Linked DNA regions of Homo sapiens: all the other regions are linked to region 4. Evidence: promoter capture Hi-C in 16 types of primary human blood cells and fetal thymus (Javierre and others, 2016). All regions are on one chromosome and are shown on one strand. Each heading gives the region's core, a stretch centred on a gene start or on the middle of the fragment in contact. The rest is flanking DNA. Distances are from core to core; before and after follow the strand shown. Region 1 has its middle 69 kb from the start of CCDC83. Region 2 overlaps CCDC83 (coiled-coil domain containing 83). Region 3 overlaps CCDC83 (coiled-coil domain containing 83). Region 4 holds the start of CCDC89 (coiled-coil domain containing 89). Region 5 overlaps CCDC83 (coiled-coil domain containing 83).

The links. Contacts are between HindIII fragments. The CHiCAGO score rates a contact against its expected background, and 5 or more counts as called.
Region 1: a contact is called between a fragment that was not itself captured here and the fragment with the promoter of CCDC89 in region 4, in 1 of 17 cell types (naive CD8 T cells). The highest score is 5.1, in naive CD8 T cells.
Region 2: a fragment that was not itself captured here is called in contact with the fragment with the promoter of CCDC89 in region 4 in 4 of 17 cell types (naive CD8 T cells, naive CD4 T cells, total CD8 T cells and 1 more); the score reaches 7.0 in naive CD8 T cells.
Region 3: a contact is called between a fragment that was not itself captured here and the fragment with the promoter of CCDC89 in region 4, in 2 of 17 cell types (naive CD4 T cells and total CD8 T cells). The highest score is 6.6, in naive CD4 T cells.
Region 5: a contact is called between a fragment that was not itself captured here and the fragment with the promoter of CCDC89 in region 4, in 6 of 17 cell types (naive CD4 T cells, total CD8 T cells, naive CD8 T cells and 3 more). The highest score is 13.7, in naive CD4 T cells.

The regions. Positions count from the first base shown.
Region 1 is chr11:85,921,332-85,926,524 of GRCh38, reverse strand. No RefSeq gene overlaps it. Among named protein-coding and RNA genes, the nearest start is that of CCDC83, 69 kb to the right of the region's middle. The HindIII fragment of the contact is 1,656 bases long and covers 1,120-2,775 here.
Region 2 is chr11:85,903,923-85,908,706 of GRCh38, reverse strand. All of the region lies in intron 7 of CCDC83 (coiled-coil domain containing 83), which reads right to left. Among named protein-coding and RNA genes, the nearest start is that of CCDC83, 51 kb to the right of the region's middle. The HindIII fragment of the contact is 3,588 bases long and covers 697-4,284 here.
Region 3 is chr11:85,885,510-85,890,796 of GRCh38, reverse strand. CCDC83 (coiled-coil domain containing 83) reads right to left here. Exons shown (of 11, transcript NM_001286159.2): 5 at 4,430-4,597. Among named protein-coding and RNA genes, the nearest start is that of CCDC83, 33 kb to the right of the region's middle. The HindIII fragment of the contact is 3,373 bases long and covers 235-3,607 here.
Region 4 is chr11:85,684,903-85,690,018 of GRCh38, reverse strand. CCDC89 (coiled-coil domain containing 89) reads left to right here and starts at 3,824. Exons shown (of 1, transcript NM_152723.3): 1 at 3,824-5,116. The coding sequence starts at 3,889. The coding sequence ends at 5,013. RefSeq lists enhancers at 4,028-4,527, 4,528-5,029. The HindIII fragment of the contact is 2,434 bases long and covers 3,210-5,116 here.
Region 5 is chr11:85,867,555-85,872,173 of GRCh38, reverse strand. The region is part of intron 2 of CCDC83 (coiled-coil domain containing 83); the gene reads right to left. Among named protein-coding and RNA genes, the nearest start is that of CCDC83, 14 kb to the right of the region's middle. The HindIII fragment of the contact is 720 bases long and covers 1,636-2,355 here.

The DNA.
Region 1 (5,193 bases), core at 698-3,197, 240 kb before region 4:
TGTAAAGGGTTTTATTTCTCCTTTGCTTATGAAGCTTAGTTTGGCTGGATATGAAATTCTGGATTGAAAATTCTTTTCTTTAAGAATGTTGAATATTGGCCCCCACTCTCTTCTGGCTTGTAGGATTTCTGCAGAGAGATCCGCTGTTAGTCTGATGAGCTTCCCTTTGGGGGCAACCCGACCTATCTCTCTGGCTGCCGGTAACAATTTTTTCTTCATTTCAACCTTGGTGAATCTGACGATTACGTGTCTTGGGGTTGCTTTTCTCGAGGAGTATCTTTGCGGTGTTCTCTGTATTTCCTGAATTTGAATGTTGGCCTGTCTTGCTAGGTTGGGGAAGTTCTCCTGGATAATATCCTGCAGAGTGTTTTCCAACTTGGTTCCATTCTCCCCGTCACTTTCATATAGTCCCATATTTCTTGGAGCCTTTGTTCATTCCTTTTCATTCTTTTTTTCTCTAATCTTGTCTTCTTGCTTTATTTCATGAAGTTGATCTTCAGTCTCTGATATTGTTTCTTCTGCTTGATTGATTCGGCTATTGATACTTGTGTATGCGTCACAAAGTTCTCATGCTGTGTTTTTCAGCTCCATCAGGTCATTTATGTCCTTCTCTAAACTGGTTATTCTAGTTAGCAATTCTTCTAACCTTTTTTCAAGGTTCTTAGCTTCCTTGCATTGGGTTGGAACATGCTCCTTTAGCTCAAAGGAGTTTGTTATTACCCACCTTCTGAAGTCTACTTCTGTCAATTCGTCAAACTCAATTCTCTGTCCAGTTTTGTTCTCTTGCAGGCGAGGAGTTGTGATCCTTTGGAGAAGAGGCACTCTGATTTTTGGAATTTTCAGCCTTTTCGTGATGGTTTTTCCTCCTTTTCATGGATTTATCTACCTTTGGTCTTTGATGTTGGTGACCTTCAGATGGGGTTTTTGTGTGGACGTCCTTTTTGTTGATGTTGATGCTATTCCTTTCTGTTTGTTAGTTTTCCTTCTAACAGTCAGGCCCCTCTGCTGCAGGTCTGCTGGAGTTTGCTGGAGGTCTACTCCAGATCCTGTTTGCCTGGGTATCACCAGTGGAGGCTGCAGAGCAGCAAAGATTGCTGCCTCTTCCTTCCTCTGGAAGCTTCATCCCAGAGAGGCGCCCGTCAGATGCCAGCCAGAGCTCTCCTGTATGAGGTATCTGTTGATTCCTGCTGGGAGGTGTCTCCCAGTCAGGAGGCACGGGGTTAAGGAACTCACTTGAGGAGGCAGTCTGTCCCTTAGCAGAGCACAAGTGCTTTGCTGGGAGATCTGCTGGTCCCTTCAGAGCTGGCAGGCAGGAATGTTTAAGTCTGCTGAAGCTGTGCCCACAGCCGCCCCTTCTCCCAGGTGCTCTATCACAGGGAGATGGGACTTTTTTCTATAATCCCCTGACTGGGGCTGCTGGCTGCTGCCTTTCTTTCAGGGATGCCCTGCCCAGAGAGAAGGAATCTAGAGAGGCAGTCTGGCTACAGGGGCTTTGCTGAGCTGTGATGGGCTCTGCCCACTTCGAACTTCCCAGTGGCTTTGTTTACACTGTGAGGGGAAAACCTCCTACTCAAGCCTCAGTAATGGCAGATGCCCCTCCCCTCACCAAGCTCCAGCATCCCAGGTTGACTTCAGACTGCTGTGCTGGCAGCAAGAATTTCAAGCCAGTCGATATCAGCTTGCTGGGCTCCATGGGGATGGAATCTGCTGAGCTAGACCACTTGGCTCCCTGGCTTCAGCCCCCTTTCCAGGGGAGTGAAAGTTTCTGTCTTGCTGGCATTCCAGGCACCACTGGGGTATGAAAAAAAACTCCTGCAGCTAGCTCGGTGTCTACCCAAATGGCCATCCAGTTTTGTGCTTGAAACCCAGGGCCCTGGTGGTGTAGGCATCTGAGAGAATCTCCTGGTCTGCAGGTTGTGAAGACCGTGAGAAAAGCATAGTATCTGTGCCAGAATGCACCATTCCTCATGGCACAGTCCCTCACGGCTTCCCTGACCCCTTGTGCTTCCCGAGTGAGGCGACGCCCTACATTGCTTCAGCTCGTCCTCCGTGGGCTGCACCCACTGTCTAACCAGTTCCAGTGAGATGAGCTGGGTACCTCAGGTGGAAATGCAGAAATCACTCACTTTCTGTGTTGATCTCACTGGGAGCTGCAGACCAGGGCTGTTCCTATTCGGCCATATTGCCAGCCACCATATAATAATATTCTTAAAGTCCTAGCCTACTGACTTGAATATCTGGGTCATTGGTGGGCATGCTTTAATTGTTTGCTTTTCCTCCTGATTCTTAGTCTTATTTTCCTGCTTCTTTGCACTGTACACGCGCGTGCACACACACACACACGTATAAAGTTTTGTATGCTCAACATTGTGAATACAAGGAGTATAGTGTCTGGGTTGGTATTCTTTGTTCCCCAGAGAAAAAAGAATCTATCCTCTGTTAGTTATATTAGGTGAGGAGAAAATCACCTCAAAGGAATCAAGAATTGAGCTGGGGGAATCGAGAGGCTCTGGTGAGGAGTGGGTGCCGTGTGTAGGTGGTGAGTGAGGAGGGAGAGGGAAAGGAAAGAGAGGAGAGCGAAGAAAAAAAATAGAGTTGAACTGGGTCAGGGCTAGTTTGCCGTTTTACTTAGATTCAGTCCACCTCTGCTCTGAAATCTCTTGAGAGTGATACCTTTTAGTTTCAGGGCCCACATCTACAGAATGAATTATTCCAGGTGCATCCATGTCTCTTTTCTCTATTGAAACTCAGTCCCTAGGTTATGTCATTTAAGCTTTCATGGCTTTAAATTCAGTCCTGGGCTGTTGATTCCCAGATCTGAATCTCCAGCCTTTACCTTTCCTAGCAGGAAACAAAGGGCACATTCAAACAGGATACCTGGAGAAAATTTAACAAAGGCAATATATACAAAGGTGTGGGCAGCATCAAGGAAAACCAACAGGAATGGTAACACTCCCTGGGGCTATCAACAGATGGGAACTGTTCCACTCCTGGGTCTAAAGGGGGAGAGGGAGGGAGTACTTACCAGACCTAGAGAGTAGCTATACTGATTCAGTATTTCTCGTCTGAGATGATTGGGACCAGAAGTGTTTCAGATTTCAGATTTTTTAGGATTTTGGAATATTTGCATATACGTAATAAGATATCTTGGGGGTAGACCCAAGTCCAAACGCAAACTTCATTTATATTTCAGATACACCATATACACATAACCTGAAGGTAAGTTTATATACTATTTAAAATTTTTTTTTGTGTATGAAACAAAGTTTTTACTGCAACCCATCACATGAGGTCAGGTGTGGAATTTTCCACTTGTAGCATTGTGTCAGTGCTTAGAATGTTTCAGATTTTGGAACATTTTGGATTTTGGATTTTCACATTAGGGATGCTCAACCTTTGTTAGGTGAGCCTTCCAACAGGAATAGTGGCCTTTGATAGAGGAACCCTGCTAATCTACATGACCTGTTAGAGAAAGAGCTGGGGGAAGAAATCTCACCCTTCTCACTTTCTTTGATCTCCTGCTAGAAACTCCTATTAAACAAACTCAGTAGAAGGTTAGAAGCAAAGGACATTGACGCAGTCCATAAAGGTCACCCTTTGAGACACAGAGATAAGGGTAGAGAGTGGATCTGGGATGGTCAAACAGAAGCACACATACATGCAACAATTTTATACTCATGAATGACTAATAGGTATCTCAATAGATGGATCTGTTAGGGAATGGAGTAGAGTGGAAAAGAGGCCTGTGAACCAGGTGCCAAATTAAAGATTATGGAGAAGAGTGATGAGAAGGGTTAGAAATTTATAGCAAAGAATAGTAGTAGAGGGTGATATATATACTGAGCTTCAAAAGGCATGTTTTTACATGAGACTGGTGGAATTGTGGTCTAGAAGAGGCATTGCATTAGTGAAAGCATGTAGCCCCACAGAAGGTGGTGGCAGAGAAGAATCAATACCAACCACTAGAGAGAGAGCCACAGGGGAAGTGAGCTCTTTCTGGGGAAAGCCAGGTGCCAGTCAAAACCAGAGAGTAAAAGAAACCTTCAACAGGCTGGGCATGGCGGTTCACATCTATAATCCTAGCACTTTGAGAAGTTGAGCCAAGAAGACCACTTGAGCTCAGGAGTTTAAGACCAGCCTAGGTCACATGGTAAGACCTCCCCCCCCCCCGCCGCCCCACACCATCTCTACAAAAAATAAAAAATTAGCTGGGCATGGTGGTGTGCTTCTGTGATCTCAGCTATTTGGGAGGGTGAGGTGAGAGGATCCCTTGAGCCTGGCAGGCTAAGGCTGCAGTGAGCCATGATCATGCTGCTGCACTCCAGCCTAGATGACAGTGAGACCCTGTCTCAAAAAGAAAAGACACCTTTGAAACTGCCTTTGCAAAATTATGACCAAGACGGCGAAAGAGATCTAATTTAATTGACTCCATCTTGCTTCTAATCTCCAAACTGTCCTTTTCATTCTTGGGCGGAGGGTCAACTAACTTTGGGAAAAACTTAGTATACAGTTTAAAACAAAGATGATAACAGCCCTTTCCCAAAGCAGTCTTCCTTCTTGCCTAGGGAGTAGATTGCATTTGTAGGACTAACATTAGCCACAAGATTAGAAATTATGGTTTGGGAGTCATGCAGCTGGAGGCTACAAGATTCTGACTGTCTCTAAACTGCTCCTAAGATCAGTGCTTGAGATATTTTGCAGACCCTGCACATCATGAATCAGCTGGCACTACCTAGATTGATAAACTGGCTCATCTGATCTTGTGGCCCCCCCATCTAGGAACTGATTTGGTCAGGAGGACAGCTTTGGCTCCCTATGATTTCATCTCTGACCAATCAGCAGTCCCGGCTCACTGGCTTCCCCACATCTACCATGTTGTCCTTAAAAACTCTGCTCCCCGAATGCTAAGGGAGAATGATTTGAGTAATAAAACAACGCTGGTCTCCCGCACAGCTGGCTCTGTGTGAATTACTCTTTTGTCTGTTGCAATTCCCCTCTTTTTTTTTTTTTTTTTTTTTTTTTTGAGGCGGAGTCTTGCTGTGTTGCCCAGGCTGGAGTGCAGTGGTGCGATCTCGGCTCACTGCAACCTCCGCCTCCCGGGTTCACTCCATTCTCCTGCCTCAGCCTCCCAAGTAGCTGGGACTACAGGCGCCTGCCACCACACCTGGCTAATTTTTTTGTAATTTTAGTAGA
Region 2 (4,784 bases), core at 1,241-3,740, 220 kb before region 4:
GTCTCAAACTCCTGGGCTTCAAGCAAGCTGCTTGCTTCGGCCTCCCGAAGTGCTGGGATTACAGGCATGAGCCACCCGGCCATGAATTCTATCTGTCTATCTATCTATCTATCTATCTATCTATCTATCTATCTATCTATCTATCTATCTATCTAATCATCTAGTCTATGCTGTGTTGCCCAGGTTGGAATGCAGTGGCGTGATCTTGGCTGACCACAGCCTCCACCTCCCAGGTTCAAGCGATTCTCCTGCCTCAGCCTCCACGGGTGCCTTCCACGGGCGCCCGCCACCATGCCCAGCTATTTTTTTTGCATCTTTAGTAGAGACGGGGTTTCATCATCACACCTGGGATTATAGGTGTGAGCCACGGTGCCCAGCCATAAATTCTTATTATGGGCAAGGTTCAGAGCTAGATGTAGAAGGATGCAAGGGTGAATAAGGCATGGCTCCTTCCCTCAAGAGAGCTTATAATCCAATGATTAAAACCACAAATAATTATAATATAAAGCAATACCAGTCCCATGGAAAAGGCTCAAATATTGCTGGTGGCTTGAAGTTAGAAAGAAAGGCATATATTATTTATCTGCCTCAAACAATTTAGTAAAACCGTTTAAGTCCAGATTACTAAATTACAAAGCTAGGGTTTGGTGTTTTAGGATCTCATATGTTGAGAGATAATTATTTTGATTACAAGCTTGAATGCCTTAAGGAAAATTTATGATTTTCAAATGTCAAAGGATGAGGAAAAAAAACTATAGTTAGACACTGTAAACAGAAGGAATTAATGCAACATTTGGGAGATGTTTGACCTAAGGGCCTGGCATGCTTGGGAGGTAGCACACACAGTTCTTGGTCTCTTTCGAAAGCTGGGAATGGGGGCCCTTTTGAGATGTTGCATCCACTCTTAGAGGCTAAGGCTCTCCTATGACATCACGTATCCCTTTAGAATAGTAATGTGCTCCTCAATAGCTATCTCCCTCGGCCTTTTGAAATGTTAGGGAATAAAAACTACTTCTTTTTCATAACCCTACAAACACCTTTGGATTTCTGGGGTCAGAAAGTAAAAAGGAGGAAGAAGTGGAAGACCACATTTCCCTCCCTGCCTCAGCTGCCCCCCAGCAAAATGCCCAAGAAATATACATAGAAACTGGGAGAGATAATTTAGTTAAAACGTTAAGTTGGGGACCTAGGATCCTGATTAAAATATATGTTCTTGAAATTTTCTCCTGAAAGATCCAAGTTAGCCTTATGTCTCCTCATACTTGAAATCCTGATGGTAATTTCCTTGATTCCCTTTGTCTAGTTTCTCCAGCTTTCCATTTGTTAATCTCAATCATTTGGAAATTCCAGTTTCCTTCATTTTCTAATAAGCATGCTAAATAAAACCAGATAATTGAAATCATGCAGTGTTACTTATAACAACTAATACATGAAAAAAAGAAAATAGTTATAAATTAAAACAACAACAAAAAAAGATAATCATGTAACAAAACAGCTGTGTAGCCTTCCCAGTGATTTATATTTTTGGTTATTGCTGAGAGATAAATGGAGAAATATTTTCATTAGTTCCATTATTAAATATCCTTTGTTACTCATTCTAAACTTTCACCAAAGAAATTAATTAACATATATTGTTCTATTTCCAGGCAATTTTCAATTCTTGTGATGGTACCAGAAATAGTTTTAATTACTTTTGCAAGTAAACTTAATAATGTTAAAAATGAATATTTATTAAAACAAAGAGAAATTAAATCTATTACATTTCCATAAAATGATTTGTTATTTATTTAATTTAATTTAATTTAATTTAATTTAATTTTTTGAGACAGGATCTCATTCTGTCACCCAGGCTGGAGTATAACGGCCTGAACATGGCTTACTACAGCCTCAACCTTCCAGGCTCAAGTGATGCTCCTATCTCGGCCTCATAAGTAGCTGGGACCACAGATGTGTGCCACAATGCCTGGCTACTTTAAAAAAATTTTTTTTTTGTAGAGATGTGGTCTCACTATATTGCCCAGGTTTGTCTCAAACTCCTAGGCTCAAGCAATCCTCCTGCCTTTGGCTCCCGAAGTGCTGGTAGTATAGGTGGGAGCCACCATGCCCAGGTGATTTGTTCTTTATTATAAAGCTCTTTTTGTTCCTGATGCCATTAAACTTAGACTTTTTTTTCTGTCATTTATTTCCATTGAACTGTGAGAAGCAGAAACATAATTTCTGGCTTCAGTAGGAAGAGTCAAGTCATGAAAACAGCCCTTCTTATTAGTCAAATGCAAATTTTTTGTAGTCATTTTCCCTAAACCTAAGATTTATGACATCTCATGAGATTAAGTGAATTGAGGCTGGGCAAGGTGGCTCACTTCTGTAATCCCACCATTTGGGGAGGCTAAGGCTGGTGGATCACCTGAGGTCGGGACTTTGAGACTAGCCTGACCAACATGATGAAACCTCACCTCTACTAAAAAATAGAAAAATTAGCCAGGTGTGGTGGTGGGCAGCTGTAATCCCAGCTACTTGGGAGGCTGAGGCAGGAGAATCGCTTGAACCTGGGAGGTGGAGGTTTCAGTGAGCCAAGGTTGTGCCATTTCACTCAAGCCTGGGCAACAGAGTGAGGCTCCGTCTCAAAAAAAAAAAGAGAGAATTGTTAAGTTATTTGATTAGGATCATACTTTGTATTTAATAAATGTATAAGAAGTAAGTTTCTCCCTAATACTCTTTTTTTTTTTTTTTTTTTTTTGAGACGGAGTCATGCTCTTGTCGCCCAGGCTGGAGTGCAGTGGCAGGATCTCAGCTCACTGCAAGCTCCACCTCCCGGGATCACGACATTCTCCTGCCTCAGCCTACTGAGTAGCTGGGACTACAGGAGCCCGCCACCATGCCTGGCTAATTTTTTGTGTTTTTAATAGAGACGGGGTTTCACCGTGTTAGCCAGGATGGTCTCGATCTTCTGACCTCGTGATCCACCTGCCTCGGCCTCCCAAAGTGCTGGGATTACAGGCATGAGCCACTGCGCCTGGCCCTCCCTAATATTCTTTAACTGTTGAGCTCACCTTGAGGTTTTAAAATTGTTAATACCTTTTTTTTTTTTATTTTTTTGAGTCTGAGTCTGGCTCTTGTTGCCCAGGCTGGAGTAAAGTAGCACAATCTCTGCTCACTGCAACCTCCACCTCCCGGGTTCAAGCAATTCTCCTACCTCAGCCTCCCATGTAGCTGGGATTACAGATGCATGCCACCACGCCTGGCTAATTTTTTTTTTTTTTTTTTGAGGCGGAGTTTCACTCTTGTTGCCCAGGCTGGAGTGCAATGGCGCAATCTCGGCTCACTGCAAACTTTGCCTCCTGGGTTCAAGCAATTCTCCTGCCTCAGCCTCCCGAGTAGCTGGGATTACAGGCATGCACCATCACGCCCGGCTAATTTTGTATTTTTAGTAGAGACGGGGTTTCTCCATGTTGGTAAGGCTGGTCTCGAACTCTTGACTTCAGGTGATCCTCTCACCTCAGCCTCCCAAAGTGCTGAGATTACAGGTGTGAGCCACTGCGCCTGGCCCACGCCTGGCTAATTTTTGTATTTTTAGTAGAGATGAGGTTTTACCATGTTGGCCAGGCTGGTCTCGAATTCTTGACCTGAGGTGATTTGCCTGCCTCAGCCTCCCAAAGTGCTGGGATTACAGGCATGAGCCAACAACATGCCCAGCCTTAAAAATTGTTAATACCTTTTTAAAAATTGTGAATTCATCCTAGTTAGTTTGGGGAGATAGTATGAACTCCTATTCACCATGACTTAATAATGACAATTTAAAGATAATTGTCAGTTATCATAGAAGCCATATGAATGTTTAAATTCCTTGTTTCCTAGACTCACTATACTCAGTCAAATAGGGAGCAAGAAAAAGGAAAGAGTAGAAGCTGACGGTGACATTTTTATCTTGAGTGTCTGGGCAGATGGTAAAAAGGAAATGGAGGAGAAAATTTTTGAAGAGAAACTTAATGAGTCCTGCTTTAGGTACATTGAATTTGAAATGCCTTTGGGACATCCACGTGAAAATATTTGGCAGGGAAAAAAAATGTAGTTCCAGAGACGAGGACACACATCAGTTTGTGCTGAAGATGTACATTTGAGAATCATATAAAAATAACTCATTAACAAGAACTGCATGTAGCTGAAGTGCGTTCTCTCAAAAGGCAGTGAGCTTTGTTTTATAGATGGCATTGAATCACAGGTTGGGTGGCTACTTTGTATCTAAAGGGAATTTCAAGTAGAAGGGTAGATTGGGCTAGATAAGCTTAAGGTACTGCTGTCCTCATAAACCAGAAACAGGCTACTAAGAAACAGAATTCCATGACTCTCTATTACCTGCTAGAGTTCAAACTTCTCTGAATGGCACACAATTTGGGCCAGACCTACTTCTCCATTTATTATGATAGATGTACCGTACAATGTAAGATGTCAGTAATAGAGGAAACTGTTGTGGCGTATATGAGAACTCTCTTAGTATCCTTGCAATAATTCTGTAAATTTAAAACTGATTTTAAAAGTTTATTTTTTTAAAAAAGCAGTCAAGAACAAAACCCCTTTCATGCTCCCTGGCACCTCTGAACTGACGGGAGAGTCATTAATTGAATGGTTTTATGCAGAAGATTGACAAGACCAGGTTTATGTTTCATTTATTTTATTTTTTTAATTAATTTTTTATTTTATTTAATTTTTAAATTTAATTTTTTAAATTTAATTTGATTTTTTAAGACAGAGTCTCGCTGTGTTGCCCAGGCTGGAGTGCAATGGAA
Region 3 (5,287 bases), core at 672-3,171, 200 kb before region 4:
AAGTTATGCCAATCCCCTTTCCTAACTTGGGCCTGCTGCCATTTTCTTTGCCTTGAGCTTCCATGATTCCTCTCTCAGTGCTGAAGGGAAGAGGGAAACATGGAAAACGGTAAGAAAGCTCTCACTTGACTGATACTGTCTCAAGCTCATGTCTACTTTCTGGACCTAGCTGGCATTTAAGGCTGACACATTGTCTCATGGGAGTGTTTTAGTAGGTTCTTTGGAGGACAAGCTTCCCCATTTCAAATGGGATTTCATCTGCATTCCCTTGATCCAGGGCAAGTACTGTCCTTAGAAGTTGGTAACAACTTTTCTGTTGGTCCCTGGTTTTCAATTCTGCACTCCCCTCCCACACATACAAAATCCCTGTTTTTCTGTTGGGGACCTATCACCGGCCCCCAACACCCTAGTCAGCTGTCTCCAGCAAGATTTCACATGACTGTTCCCCAACTCTCTCTCATAACAAGTTGACAAGAAACACTCCTCCATTCTTTGCCCTGACAAACTCGGGAGTGCAGGCCCAGCCCAGGGCAGCAGCCACCTCTTCTGTGTTCTGCTGTCAGTGCGGTTAGCTCCTCAGCCACTTACTCCCTAGATTTCTCAGGGATGAGTCATAAACTAGACCTGAATGCCCAGACTGCAGGGGACACATACTGAACCATCTGAGAAATCTCTCTGAAGACCTTTCACCCAGATTTGAGATGGAGGAGGAATTACCTTTTACCTGCTCCTCGGTGGGGGAAAGAGTAGGACTGATAGCACACCAAAAGCTCTTTCCAAAAGTTGTCCCCTAATTTCTAACAACCTTTTCCTGGCCTCTCTAACTTCTTGTATAGACTGGAATTCGATGATCAAAGGTGCGAAACTGGTTTTCTTCTTCATCAAATTGCAAATCTATGTGGTGGTATCTCATCTCATTTTGCCACCTCAGCGTAAACTGAGACTTTAAAAAGTTTTAATATCCTCTTTCACTTACAGCAACCTCCCAGCCCACAACAATAGCCTGACTTGATCTCTCTTCCTTGCATGTAAAGCAGCCTAACTAACGCAAACCCCATAATCATTGGAGGAGAATTCCAGGAAAATCATGAAAGAAGGCAGCCTGTGTAGAAGGTAGGAGAAAAAGAGGGGATGATGGTAGTAAGCCTTCAGATAGATTGATTTAGGAGTCTTGCTCATATTCATTGTGTCCAGTTAGTGGTCCCCAACATGTTCTAATAGTTCCCCTGGTGGAGTGGCTGCTGCTACCTGGATGGTTAAGACAAGTCCCTAAAACTAATGGAAAATAACACAAGCCCATAACAACCATTTTCTTATGGCTGCGCCCCATGGCTTGACCAGCAAGTAATTCAATATATAAATGTTTTTACCACCCCAAAGTTGAATACAACCACATGAAAATTTTTAAGTCAAAGAAATCATCCTAGTTAATAATTCATTAATTTAAGACAAGGTCTCTCTCTGTCACCTAGACTACAGTGCAGTGGTGCAATCTTAGCTCACTGCAACCTCTGCCTACTAGGCTCAGGTCGTCCTCCCACCTAAGCCTCACAGGAGCTGGAACTGCAGGTGTGCGGCACCACACCCAGCTAACTTTTGTATTTTTGGTAGAGATGGGGTTTCACCCTGTTGCTCAGGCTTGTCTCGAACCCCTGAGCTCAGGTGACCCATCCACCGTGGACCCCCCAAAATGCTGGTATTACAGGCGTGAGACACCACGCCTGGCCCAATCATCCAAACTTCTGATCAAGATAATGGGTTAAGTTTATATGAGAAGATCACTTTTCCTACTTTAAAAATGTGAAATAAATACTGGCTAAAATATTTGAAATTTTGAAAATGTACCAGAACAATAACTTTTTAAAAAGTATTCTACTGGTTAACAAATGCATAGGCAGATCAGTGAATCAGAATAGATAGTAGAGAATAAGATTCAGATATATATGAGAAATAAAAGTATAATAAAGTTAGCACTTCAAATCAGTAGGATAAAAATTGATGATAAATGATGTTGGAACAACTGGAAAACCATTTGGTAAAAAAATAAAGTTGGATCACTCTCTCACACAAAAACAAAGACTTAAATATAAAAACAAAACCATAAAAATTTTAGAATAAAATATTGGAGAATTCATTCATAATCTCATAAACGTAAAATCAAAGACTGATAAGTTGGGCACTTTAAAAGCACATCATTTCTTCATTAAAAAACCCACAAACAAAAAAACTAATGACAAATGGGAAAAATATTTGCAATTTATATCACAGTTAAAGAGCTAATTTTTTTAAAATGTAAAGAGTGCCACAACACATTAGAAAAATGGGTGACAGATATGAACAGATGGTTTATGGAAAAGGAAATTCATATAGCTCTTGAAGTTATGAAAAGACACATTCAGTGTCACTTTTAATAAAAGAAATGGAAATTAAAACTACAATGAGATACCATTTTCGACCCATAAGACTGACAAAGAACAAAAATTTGGATACCACCCCCTGTTGCTGAAGATGTGGGAAAATAGGTATCCTCATGCATACTGTTAGAAGTACCACTTGGTACAACCTTTATGGAGGGCCACATTTATCACAGTAAAATAGTCTGTTTCACACAACCATTTCTTTCAGAGATACACATAAGTGAAATGACATAAATACAAGAATATTTGTCATAGGAAAATGAGACATGTGTAAGGATAGTCATTGCAGCATTATTTGTAATACTAAAACACTAGAAACAACCTTAATGCTTATGTGTAAGAAACTGGTCAAAAAATTATGGTTACCAGCCTGGGAAACACAGTGAGACCTCTACAAAAAATAAATAAAATTAGCTAGGTATGGTGGCACATACCTGCTGTCCCAGCTACTCAGGAGACTGAGATGGGAGGATTGTTTGAGCCTGGGAGGTTGAGGCTGCAGTGAGCTGTGTTCATGCAATTGCACTTCATCTTGGGTGACAGAGTGAGACCGTGTCTCGAAAAAAAAAAAAAAAAAGGTACAATAAAACCATGCAACCACTGGAAGAATGAGGCAGTATTAAGATATACTGATTTAGAAGGATGTTCATGTTGTTACATGAAAAGCAAGTAAGACATCATATTTATAGCATGCTATTTGTGATATATATATATATATATGCATAGAATATTTCTGACTGCTAAATAAGAAACTGGTAGTAGTGGGAGAGGATTTGAGTGCGGACAGAGGGAGTAGCAGGCTGGCACTCTTGTTCTCTTTTCAGAAGAAGAACCTTTTGACAAATTGGAACTTCATGCCCAGACTGATATGGGGCCAAGTTTACACCACCACTGTGGTGCAGAGGCCCTAAGCTGAGAAACTTACATACAAATTGGTCCACAAGCAGAGAGCCCTGATAGGGGGACATGGGAACCACCCACAGGAACCCCTCCACAACGCAGGGCACTATCTCCAGCTGAGTCCTGGACTGTTGTCCACCCACAGCAACTCTTTTGGGCCAGATTTCCCCCATTAATTCTGTCCTATGATTCTTCTGTGTCTGGGTCTCTGGTGTTCTTTTAAGCTGCTATGCTTGCCTCAGTAACAGACAGCTGGCCCTCATCGTGTCCAGATCTAGTCCTGGTAAGCTTCATTGCTCCTGACGGCATCCTACTCTATAGCCTCTCCACTTCTCATCTCATGTTTGTTCCCCAGTTTTTCCCTGGTTACAACTTAATTGACTTTGACGTTTCTCCATGATGATTCTGGCTATCCAGCCTGGCTAAGCTGACTTAGCTTGCCCCAGGTGAATTCTCTTTCTAATATAACCTGGCCTCAGGACACTCCTATCTTGGTGGAATTGCTTCTGTCCCAGTGTGGAAACATACAGACCCCATCCATTGAATGAAGATTCTTTCTTCTTTTTTTTGAGACAAGGTCTGCTCTGTCACCCAGGCTGGAATGCAGTGGCACAATCACAGCTCCCTGCAGCCTTGACCACGGGGCTCAACTGATCCTCCCACCTCAGCCTCTCAAGTAGCTGGGGCTACAGGCATGAGCCACCATGCCCAACTGATTTTTTAATTTTTTGTAGAGATATGGTCTCACTGTGTTGCCCAGGCTGGTCTCAAACTTCTTGGCTCAAGCGATCCTCCAGCCTCAGGCTGTTGAGATTACAGGCATGAGCCACCGCATCCAGCCAGAAGCGTCTTTCTTAAAGTCACTTGGTCACAGGGCTTCTGCACACTGCCCCCCACCCGCCCATTTCTTTATTTCCCCTTCTCAGTTTCACAGGTGGTCCTGGGATCATTTTTCTGCTTCCTCCCTCCACCTTTACCCTTAGGCTCACAGCTGCTTGTGCTGACAGCAGAGTAATGAATGATTCAGGGAGTATGCACTTTTTTCTTCCATCAATGTATGCCCTACTAAAGATGTTTTTTACTGAACTTGAACTAGTTTTGTTGCAACTGACCTGACATTTTCTCTGCATTCTCTTTAACTGTGTTGATGTCATTTTGTAAGGAGGTAATGAGTTTAGCATGTCGTTCACTCCCTACATTCTTGTACTCCTCCCAATATTCCTTTTCACTGAGTTTCTCAAGAAATAGTTTCTCAGCATTACTTATTTGCATGCGCATATCTGTTGAAAATAAAGACACTGTGTCATTTCTGTTTTCCTTGTAACCATTATATGTTGCAATCTGGTTTTAAGAAGTTAAGATCTGATATTAAAATACTGTTAACTCATAAATACTATTTTATATCTAAAATTTAGGAAATTCTAAACTATTCAAACTGTTGTTTATCTATCTCCCCTGATTCAAAATCTAAGCAAAATTAAACTTCTGACTACAAAGTAGATGTGTGGTTTGAGGGTTGATTGAAAGACGTAATAGACAACCCATATGCCTAGGAAGCTGCAAGTTTACATCATTCCTGATAAGGGTCCTATTTTGTACAGTGTATCATATAATATGTATAATATGTATTCTTTATTAGGAAATTGTCATTTTTCTGGCCATTATACCCTCTGAGCAAAAGTGATTTCAACTTGTGTCCTTCCCAGGTCCTTGGCAACCATTTTTGTAAGTAAATTGTTTGATTCAGTCATCTAAAGTTCATTTATTTGGATTTCTCTTGTATGAAATGATAGCCTCTGATAGTCATAATAACATGTCTTTTCCCACCCCCCTTTGGTAAAACCAGAGTGATGGGCAAGTTCCCCAGTTAAATGTGTACAAATACTGAACTATTTCAGGGATATAAACTTTGTTTGCTAAACATGATATTCTATTCAATCTTTAGGCCGAATATCATGTTGCTGAATATT
Region 4 (5,116 bases), core at 2,575-5,074:
GAAGAGCTCTGTAAATGGTAGCTTTAAAAGGGAGGGAGGCATGGAAAGACTTAAAGATAAGTGGAGACGACTCATTGATCACCACAAGGGAGAGAATTGGTCACCTTGGATCTCTGGGAAGGGAATATATGGGATACTTTTAGGAGGGGAGCTAGAAAAAAAATGATTGAGCAAAGAAGACAACCACGGCAGAAAGGAACCAAAGTGATTACTAAACTAAGTTATTTGAGGACAGTGATCGTATTTATTTTATTAATATATTCTTAGCACCTAGCATTGCAAATAACCTTGCAAATGTTTACTGAATAAATGAATGAATATTGATTAGGATCTTATCAGATTCTTGGTCTTGATAAGTAATCTATAGATGTGTGTTATTTTAAATAATGTAAATATAAATTTAATAGAAATGTGTATTAAAATATATTTGCAAAAAAGAAATATAAGCTTTTTCAAATGTGGAAAATTTAGCTGAACATGGTGGTACATGCCTGTAGTCCTAGCTGCTTGGGAGGCTGAGGCAGGAAGATTGCTTGAGCCCAGGAATTCAAGACTGCAGTGAGCTATGATGACACTACTGCACTCCAGCTTGGGCAACAGAGACCCTGACTGGTAAAAAAACAAATGTGTATGTATCTTTTTTCCGTATTTTTCTGAATTCTTTTCCTCCTTTCAGGAAATATATTTTGTGAATTCACTTTATGATATCAGACAACCATATAATCAACAAATAAAATTTTCAATGTTTGTAAGACCCTTTTATTTAAGAGGACCATTCTAATTTTCTAGTCATTTGCCTTGAAAATAACTAGACGAACTCCATTTACGCATATGAAGCTTGAAATTTAAGGAAAAGGACAAGAGAAATGTGGGAAAATTACAAATAAGTTTAATTCACATTTTTAAAGTCTTTGGAATTCACTTTCACAAAACTTCAATATCCTACTGTTTATGTAGTTGTTAAAATTTCAGCTTAGGAAATTTCCCCAGTCTTCAATCTTGGTTTCCATATATAGACAAGAAATTCAGGATTTGAAACATGAGACCTTGATCTTTGACAGTGAGGGAAGAACCTGAAACTCTTCTTTCAGATTTGTTTCGCTCCCAGTGAAATCTGAAGCATTTAAAAATTCATCTCATATCTATAATGACACCCAGGGTTTTTCCTTATCATCATGACTTGGGAGATAGTAAATCTGATCACCAGAAACTGTGACCACAAGAATAGTCAACTCTTTTCCCTACCCTTAATTTTCACAGGATTGAAATCATCTGAATTTTAAGTTTTGTATTTTGCCTTTTTCAGTTGTATTTCTAACATAAGACTTTTCCATGCTATTAAAAATTACCTATAAATGTAATAAGTTCTAGTGGCTGTACAATATTTTTTGTATGAATATATCATAATTTTTGTAACCATTCCCTTTTTTTTTTGAAAACTTGGGTTTCCAACTTTTAGTTGTTACAAACCACACTACAATGAAAAGTTTTGAGCAAAATGTTTTCTTTCAGATTATTTCCTAAGCAAAGATCTCCGCAGAAGAATTACTAGTTCGGAAGCCATAAAAATATCTTAATTTCTCAGTACCTACTGTCAACTGACTTTCACCAACAGTTTAAGAGAGTGCCTATTTCAATACTCCTTTCTAGTCCTGGCTTGTCTTAAGAGAAAATTTTTTGACTAATTTGATACGTGAAATTATATCTTTTTTTTTTTTTTTTTTTTTTTGAGACGGAGTCTCGCTTTGTTGCCCAGGCTGGAGTGCAGTGGCGCGATCTCGGCTCACTGCAAGCTCCGCCTCCCGGGTTCACGCCATTGTCCTGCCTCAGCCTCCTGAGTAGCTGGGACTACAGGCGCCTGCCACCACGCCTGGCTAATTTTTTGTATTTTTTTGGTAGAGACGGAGTTTCACCGTGTTAGCCAGGATGGTCTCAATGTCCTGACCTCGTGATCCGCCTGCCTCGGCCTCCCAAAGTGCTGGGATTACAGGCGTGAGCCACCACACCCGGCCGAAATTATGTCTAATTTTAACTTGTATTTATTGGATCACTGTAGACGTTCAGTTCTTGGCCATTTTTGTGAATTTAATTGTTTATTTTTTAGATGTTAATGTTTCGTTGATATGTATAAAATATTTATTTAAAAAAGGTAGTGTCTGGGCTGGGTGCGATGGCTCATGCCTGTAATCTCAGCACTTTGGGAGGCTGAGGCGGGTGGATCATTTAAGGTCAGGAGTTCAAGACCAGCTTGACCAACATGGTTAAACTCCGTCTCTACTAAAAATACAAAAATTAGCCAGGTGTGGTTGTATGTAATTGTAATCCCAGCTACTCAGGAGACTGAGGCAGGAGAATTGCTTGAGCCCGGGAGGCGGAGGTTGCAGTGAATCGAGATCGTACCACTGCACTCCAGCCTGGGCGATGGAGGGAGACTCTGTCTCAAAAAAAAAAAAAAAAAAAAAAAAAAAGTAGTGTCTGTCATATTAGGGATATTTTTCTCAATTTGATTTTTACCTTCAACATCCACTTAATACACATTTATCTGAATCTCCCCCATGTGCCAGGCACTAGTCTAATCATCAAGGATGAAATAGACACAGTCCCTGCCCTTAAGGATCTTACAGTCTAACAGAGGGAAGCTGGCAGATAAACAGTGACTGCAATAAAATTTTCACATCCTCCACCAGAAGTACAAATAGCTATAGCGGATGCACTAAAAGATGTGAGTGACCAATTGGACATGTAGGGGCCAGGAATAGGCTTCAGAGACGATTCTTAACTAAGAATAAAAAGCTTTACTAGAGTGACAAGGGACAAAGTAGGAAAGGCATTCCAAGTAGAGGAACACCTAAAGATAGGGCGAGAGAGCTGGTTAGTGGATTTGGGTTTGGCTTCAATATTTGGGTTTGAGGAGTAAAATGTCAAGAAAATCCAGTGGAAGAAGGGGCTGGAGAGACCTCAGAAGTCACATAATTTAAAAAATTATACATAACTTTTTGAGTAAGCTTTCCCTTTCTGATCTTACATAATGTTTAAGATAAAAAAAAAATCCTTCCTAGCCCCAGAGATTTGATGTTTACCTTCATTTTCTTCTAGTTTCTGTTTACATTTAACTAATCTATCAGGAGTTGACTTTGGCATATAATGGCAAGCTTCATTTGAATCTTATTTTTTCTGTTTTAATGTTTATCTGTGTGGTTCACTAAGCTTCTTTCTGTAACCTTATTTTGCTAATGGGTAAAAACAGGGGGTGTTAAATATCTAATAAAGAGTATTTATGCCCAGGTGGGGACAATGCTAAGAACAACAAAAGAAATTTCACTGGTGTTTTCTATTTTAATACTTAAATACCAAAAGGGAGCTGTGCCAAACATCACGGGTGCAGATATGCAGGCTTTTAGGGTCCTGGCTCTCAGAATACCACTACTACTTTGTATTCATAGACTGAAATTTTTTGAGGAGCCAACCATGTTTCCACAAACAGTAATTTATTCAAACGATAACTGAAGAGGGGAGAGGGAGGATAAATATATCATTGCCTGCTTCATTTGTTTACTACTACCAGAAATTAGGTGGAGTCAGGCTTCCTCCCCTGATGCTGGCTGGAGATTGAGTGGGGTTGGCATCTCTGTGCTGTACAGGCCAGACACTGAGACAGTTGACAACTGAGAGCTGTGATTGGTTAGAAAGGCAAAAGTAACCCGACCAGATTGGCTCTGGACTCCCCCAGATTCCCCTGTTGTTACTTCATAGCATTCTGAAGACCTGTCCACCAATTACAGGGCTCCTTACTGGAAAAACCAACTGCTGGGGAGTGCCAAGAGTCCCTAGCAACACCCTGCAGCGTTTGAAATCTGAGGGGAAAAGACTGTAGTCAGCCCTTAGTGGATGAGAGCGCCTATGCTCCAGAAACAGCAGGCTCCCAGGATGGACACCCCGCCCCCTGAAGAACGCTTAGAGAAGCAAAATGAAAAACTGAACAACCAGGAAGAGGAGACGGAGTTTAAGGAACTGGACGGTCTGAGGGAAGCCTTGGCAAACCTCCGGGGACTGTCAGAGGAGGAGAGGAGCGAGAAGGCTATGCTTCGCTCCCGCATTGAAGAGCAGTCCCAGCTCATCTGCATCCTGAAGCGGAGGTCAGATGAGGCCCTGGAGCGCTGCCAGATCCTAGAGCTGCTCAATGCAGAGCTGGAGGAGAAGATGATGCAGGAGGCTGAGAAGCTCAAGGCCCAGGGTGAGTACAGTCGGAAACTAGAGGAACGCTTTATGACCCTAGCAGCCAACCACGAGTTGATGCTCCGCTTCAAGGATGAATACAAGAGTGAGAACATCAAGCTGAGGGAGGAGAATGAGAAGCTGAGGCTGGAGAATAGCAGCCTCTTCAGCCAGGCTCTGAAGGATGAGGAGGCGAAAGTATTACAGCTCACAGTCCGGTGTGAGGCCCTCACTGGGGAGCTAGAAACGCTGAAGGAGAGGTGTGCTCAGGATGCCTGCCAGGCACAGGCGCGCGAGAAGGAGCTGCTGGAGCTACAGAGCCAGCAGGCCTGCACCCACACCAAGGAGACAGAACAGCTGCGCAGCCAGCTGCAGACCCTCAAGCAGCAGCACCAGCAGGCTGTGGAGCAGATAGCTAAGGCAGAGGAGACACACAGCAGCCTGAGCCAGGAGCTGCAGGCCAGGCTGCAGACCGTCACTAGAGAGAAAGAGGAGTTGCTGCAGCTGTCCATTGAAAGGGGCAAAGTGCTTCAGAACAAACAGGCAGAGATCTGCCAGCTTGAGGAAAAGTTGGAGATAGCAAATGAAGACAGGAAGCATGCGCTGGAGCGGTTTGAGCAAGAGGCAGTGGCTGTGGACAGCAACTTGAGAGTCAGGGAGCTTCAGCGCAAAGTAGATGGGATCCAGAAGGCCTACGATGAACTCAGGCTGCAGTCTGAAGCCTTCAAAAAGCACAGCTTGGATCTTTTAAGCAAGGAGAGAGAACTCAATGGCAAACTCCGCCATCTCTCTCCATAGGGAAGTTTCTGCTTCCTCTGGCCTGCAATTCAGAATTCAAATATTTGCGTCTTAGCATTATGGCAAGAGTAAAGATGATATCCCATTTATTATACTTTCAAGC
Region 5 (4,619 bases), core at 746-3,245, 180 kb before region 4:
CCAGACCAGGCTGGCCAACATGGCAAAACCCTGTCCCTACTAGAAATACAAAAATTAGCCAGGTGTGGAGGTGAATGCCTGTAGTTCTAGCTACTCGGGAGGCTGAGGCATGAGAATCGCTTGAACCCAGGAGGCGGAGGTTGCAGCAAACCAAGATCATGCCACTGCACTCCAGCCTGGGTGACAGAGTGAGATGCAGTCTTAAAGTAAATAAATAAAATAATTTTTAAAACTTTATAGTATATCTTGTATCACTATAACCTAATAAATCTTATAACTTTAAATCTGAGACCAAAATAAGGCAACAGAAGTGTGTTACCTAAACCCTTTGGCTCAATTAAAAACAAAATAAAACAAAAACAGAAATATAGTACCTCTGTAGTAGAGTGAAGAGTAGTTAAAGAATGAGAAACTCTGGTTTTAAGTCTTGCCCTTATCACTTCTTGTCTACATGATCTCAGGCAAGTCAATTCCCTGGGCCTAAATGTCCAAGCAGTCAAATGGGATAAAAATACCTAGCTCTGCATATTATCGTAAGGATTAAAATAAGAAATCATATGTGAATGTTTCTAGCATAAAATAAATGCTTAGTAAATTTCAGTTGAATTAAACCTTATATCCTTAGCCCTTTCCCCCAAACATCAATTATATTTGTGACATTGTATACTCATTAGAGAGAAAAACTAGGCTCTTTCTTTCCCAATAATGAGAAAATGCAACATTAAAAAAAAATCCTTTACTGGTCAAAAAAAAGCTCGTTTGGATACTATGAAACTTGAATTTTAGAGCTGGTTTTCCAGTTCTCTAAGGATATTTAACCTCCAGAAATAAGAGGATTGATGGAGATGAACTCTATGCTTCCTTTTCAGTTACAAAATTCTGCAATTTAAATGGACCAATATTCCCTTTCAAACAGTCATACATACAATGTAGATTTAAAGAGCTGAAAGGTGCCCAGCATTGTTTTAGGCATTATAGAGATTGTTTGTTTGTTTGTTTGTTTTTTTGAAATAGAGTCTTGCTCTGTCACCTAGGCTGGAGTGCAGCAGCATGATCTCGGCTCACTGCAAACTCCCCCTCCCAGGTTCAAGCGCTTGTCCCACCTCAGCCTCCCCAGTAACTGGGATTACAGGCACACGCCACCACACCCAGCTAATTTTTGAATTTTTTGCAGAGACGAGGTTTCACCATGTTGGCCAGGCTGGTCTTGAAATCCTGGTCTCAAGTGATCCACCTGCCTCAGCCTCCCGAAGTGCTAGGATTATAGGCATGAGCCACTGCGCCTGGCCTACAGAGATAATTTTGAACAACACCTTCATGATCCTTGCCTTCAAGGAGTACCTTTTACTGGATAATAAGAAGTAAACACATAAACATATTGAAACATATTGTTTACACATTATGATAAATACCATGGGGAAAATAACAGGATATAAGAAGGACCATAAATGGAGGGGACTACTATAGTAGATAGGGCAGCCTCCACAAAATAATAAGAAAATAAGGCTCTGTGCTGCCCAGGCTGGGCTTGAACTCCTGGGCTCAAGGAATCCTCCAGCCTCAGCCTCCCAAGTAGCTGGGGTTACAGATGTGCACCACGACACTTGGCTCATCTTTGACTTCTTACCTAAAGCTTACATTTGTGCAAAAATTTTGAAGGAGTGCCTTTTCTACCTCCCGTTTTTCAGGAGATTAAAAAAAAAGTATTATAAATGAAAATTATCTGAAAAGAACCTATGCAAATGTGCAAATTACTGACATAATTTCTGCAGTTATAAATCTATTAATACTACTTCTTTACATGGGTAGAGCAGGCAAATGAATCTCAAGATGTGGTCTTCATTGGTTAAACTGAGTCTACAGATGGGCTCGTTAATAGACCAATTCCCTGGCTGCAGCTGAGAGCTTTCCTTGGTGATGACTGAGCATGCAACGATTGGGCTGGAGACCATGTGCAGCCCCAGCCCCATTGCATGGGTCATATTTATACTAAGCAAATTATTTGCTGTTTATCTGAAACTCATATTTAATTGGGCATCGTTTATTTCTATTTGCTACAACTGGCATCCCCACACTTAAGCCCACCACCCCTCCCTCAGAGCATTTAGGAGCAAATGGCCTCAGGCTTTGTCTCTTGTCCATTTGTGGAGTGAGCAGTTCAGGATGATGTGAGTGGCAGCAGCAGGCCTCAGTGGGGAATTCTGAGATGCCCTAAATGCTTTGGCAGCTTCACTGGCCCGCTTGTGGAGCTTATGGTAGCTGTGGGTCTAATTTAGCTGAGCCTGTCTTTGAAAGCCACTTCAGCCTTCTCTGGCTTCATGAAAAGGTGTGTTTTACCAGGAAGCAGATGAAGCTTAACTTCAGAACTCAACACTATTATGGGGACTTCAAGCATCATTGTTCCTTATACACTTTTTTCCTTTTTAATATCTCCCCCATCTACTCAGTGCCCTAGAATCTGACATGTCACACTAGGTGCTGAAGCAAGTGGGGTGATAATAAAGCAATATACATTAAAGCAGTTTGAAAAGGTTATGGCACTATTCTAAAGCACAGTGATATTAAATTGTTAGTAAGACAATATGTCACCTTTCCCCCACTCTCTATATTGTTAAAATGTTAGTAATGTGTCAATGTTCCCCCCACCCATGCAATTTCATTGAAAATTCTGGGAAGGAAAACAAATAAATTTGAATTCCAAAAAAACTATATTTTTGTGTTTTTTTCTTTAAACCTATAACCATACCCACATGTTTTTATATCTCTATCCATATTCATTGTAGAAAACTGGGAGACAACAAGTATAAAGGAGAAAATAAAAACTACCGTTACTTAGAGATGATCACTTTATAGATTTAGTATTGGTTTATAGATTTAGTATCAGTTCTTCACAAACAACCATAGAAGTTCATGACCTTATGTTCCGGGAAAGAGTTCCTATATCCATGAAATTACCTGATAAAAGGGCAGGATTGCTTTGTTACAAATGTTTTCAGAATATTTGAACAATTTATACTCACCAGTGGGTAAGAAAGAGCTTGTTTATTGGTGGGCATTTCATCACTGAGTGTTAGTACGTTAAAAAATTTGTTTCCTGTATCAACAGGCAAAAATAACATTGTATTTGTTTTCATGAGTGTGATTTTGCTTTCAGACAAGATCCGACAACATTTACTCAACAAAGAAACTCTGAGCTCATACTATAAGGCTGTGCTAGATACTAGAGGTACAGAGATGAGTAAAGAATAGTCTTCAAGGAGCTCACAGTTTGTTGAGGGAGAATGAAGCACACATGACCTGCCATATTTTTTCCTTCACCTCAAATATTCTAACTGCCTTATTCATATAAAAACACAAATCTGGGCTGGGCGCAGTGGCTCACGCCTGTAATCCTAACATTTCAGGAGGTTGAGGTGGGCTGATCCCTTGAGCCCAGGAGTTTGAGACCAGCCTGGTCAACATAGGGAGACCCTGTCTCTATAAAAATAAACAAACATGGCTAACACCTGTAATCCCAGCACTTTGGGAGGCTCCCAGCACTTTGGGAGGCCAAGGCAGGAGGCCAAGATCAGGAGTTCAAGACCAGCCTGGCCAACATGGCAAAACCCCATCTCTACTAAAAACACAAAAAATTAGCTGGGTGTGGTGGCACATGCCTGTAATTCCAGCTACTGGGGAGGCTGAGGTGGGAGAATTGCTTGAATCCAGGAGGCGGGGGTTGTAGTGAGCCGAGATCATGCCACTGCACTCCAGCCTGGGTGACAGAGTGAGACTCTTGTCTCAAAAACAAACAAATCACTGATCCAAATAAACTTGACTTTCAAAAAAATCTATATCATAATCTCCATTTTTTCACTCACGACCATATTCTCACCCGTTTCTATATCTATATCCATACTTATTGTAGAAAACGGGGGGCAAGACAAGTATAAAGGAGAAAATAAAAACCATCATTATTCAGAGACGATAATTTTATAGACTGAACATTGGTAGTATCAGCTCTTCACAAACAACCATAGAAGTTCATGACTTTCTTTTCTTGGGATAAATTTGAAAAAAGTTCAGTTGCTCAAAAACCATGAATTAACTATCTACTATGTGCTCACTGCTTTGTTAGGAGCTGAGAGAGATATAAGAGGCGCCAGGGAACTCCTGGACAATCCTTCCTCAGATGGTGAGAGGAAATGTCTTGGCTATGTGTCATGTGACAACAGTTCTGTCACCGAGGAACACATGGAATGCATAAACTGTCATCAGTAGAGCATGGTACAGCAAGGCCTTGGCTGTTCCAGTCCATGAGATTATTTATTTAGTTTTACCAAATACAAAAGAACAAGGGTATGAGATGTTCAGTTTATAACTTGCACTAGATCATGAGAATTTTTAAACGTTTGCCTTTTTGTAAACCTTTGTTAAAGAGGAGAAAGACTGGTTTCTGGTCCACCCAAAAGAGAGAAAAACAGCTGTTAACTGGATGTCACCAGTTACACCATGGGAGCAAATTAGAGACCAGGTTACATTCACAGAGCTTGGCTTTTTGTCCACCTCTCCTAAGATGAGATGAACAAAGTTTTCAGTTATGTTGAGAAATGAGTATGAATAGTATCTAGTTATTAGTT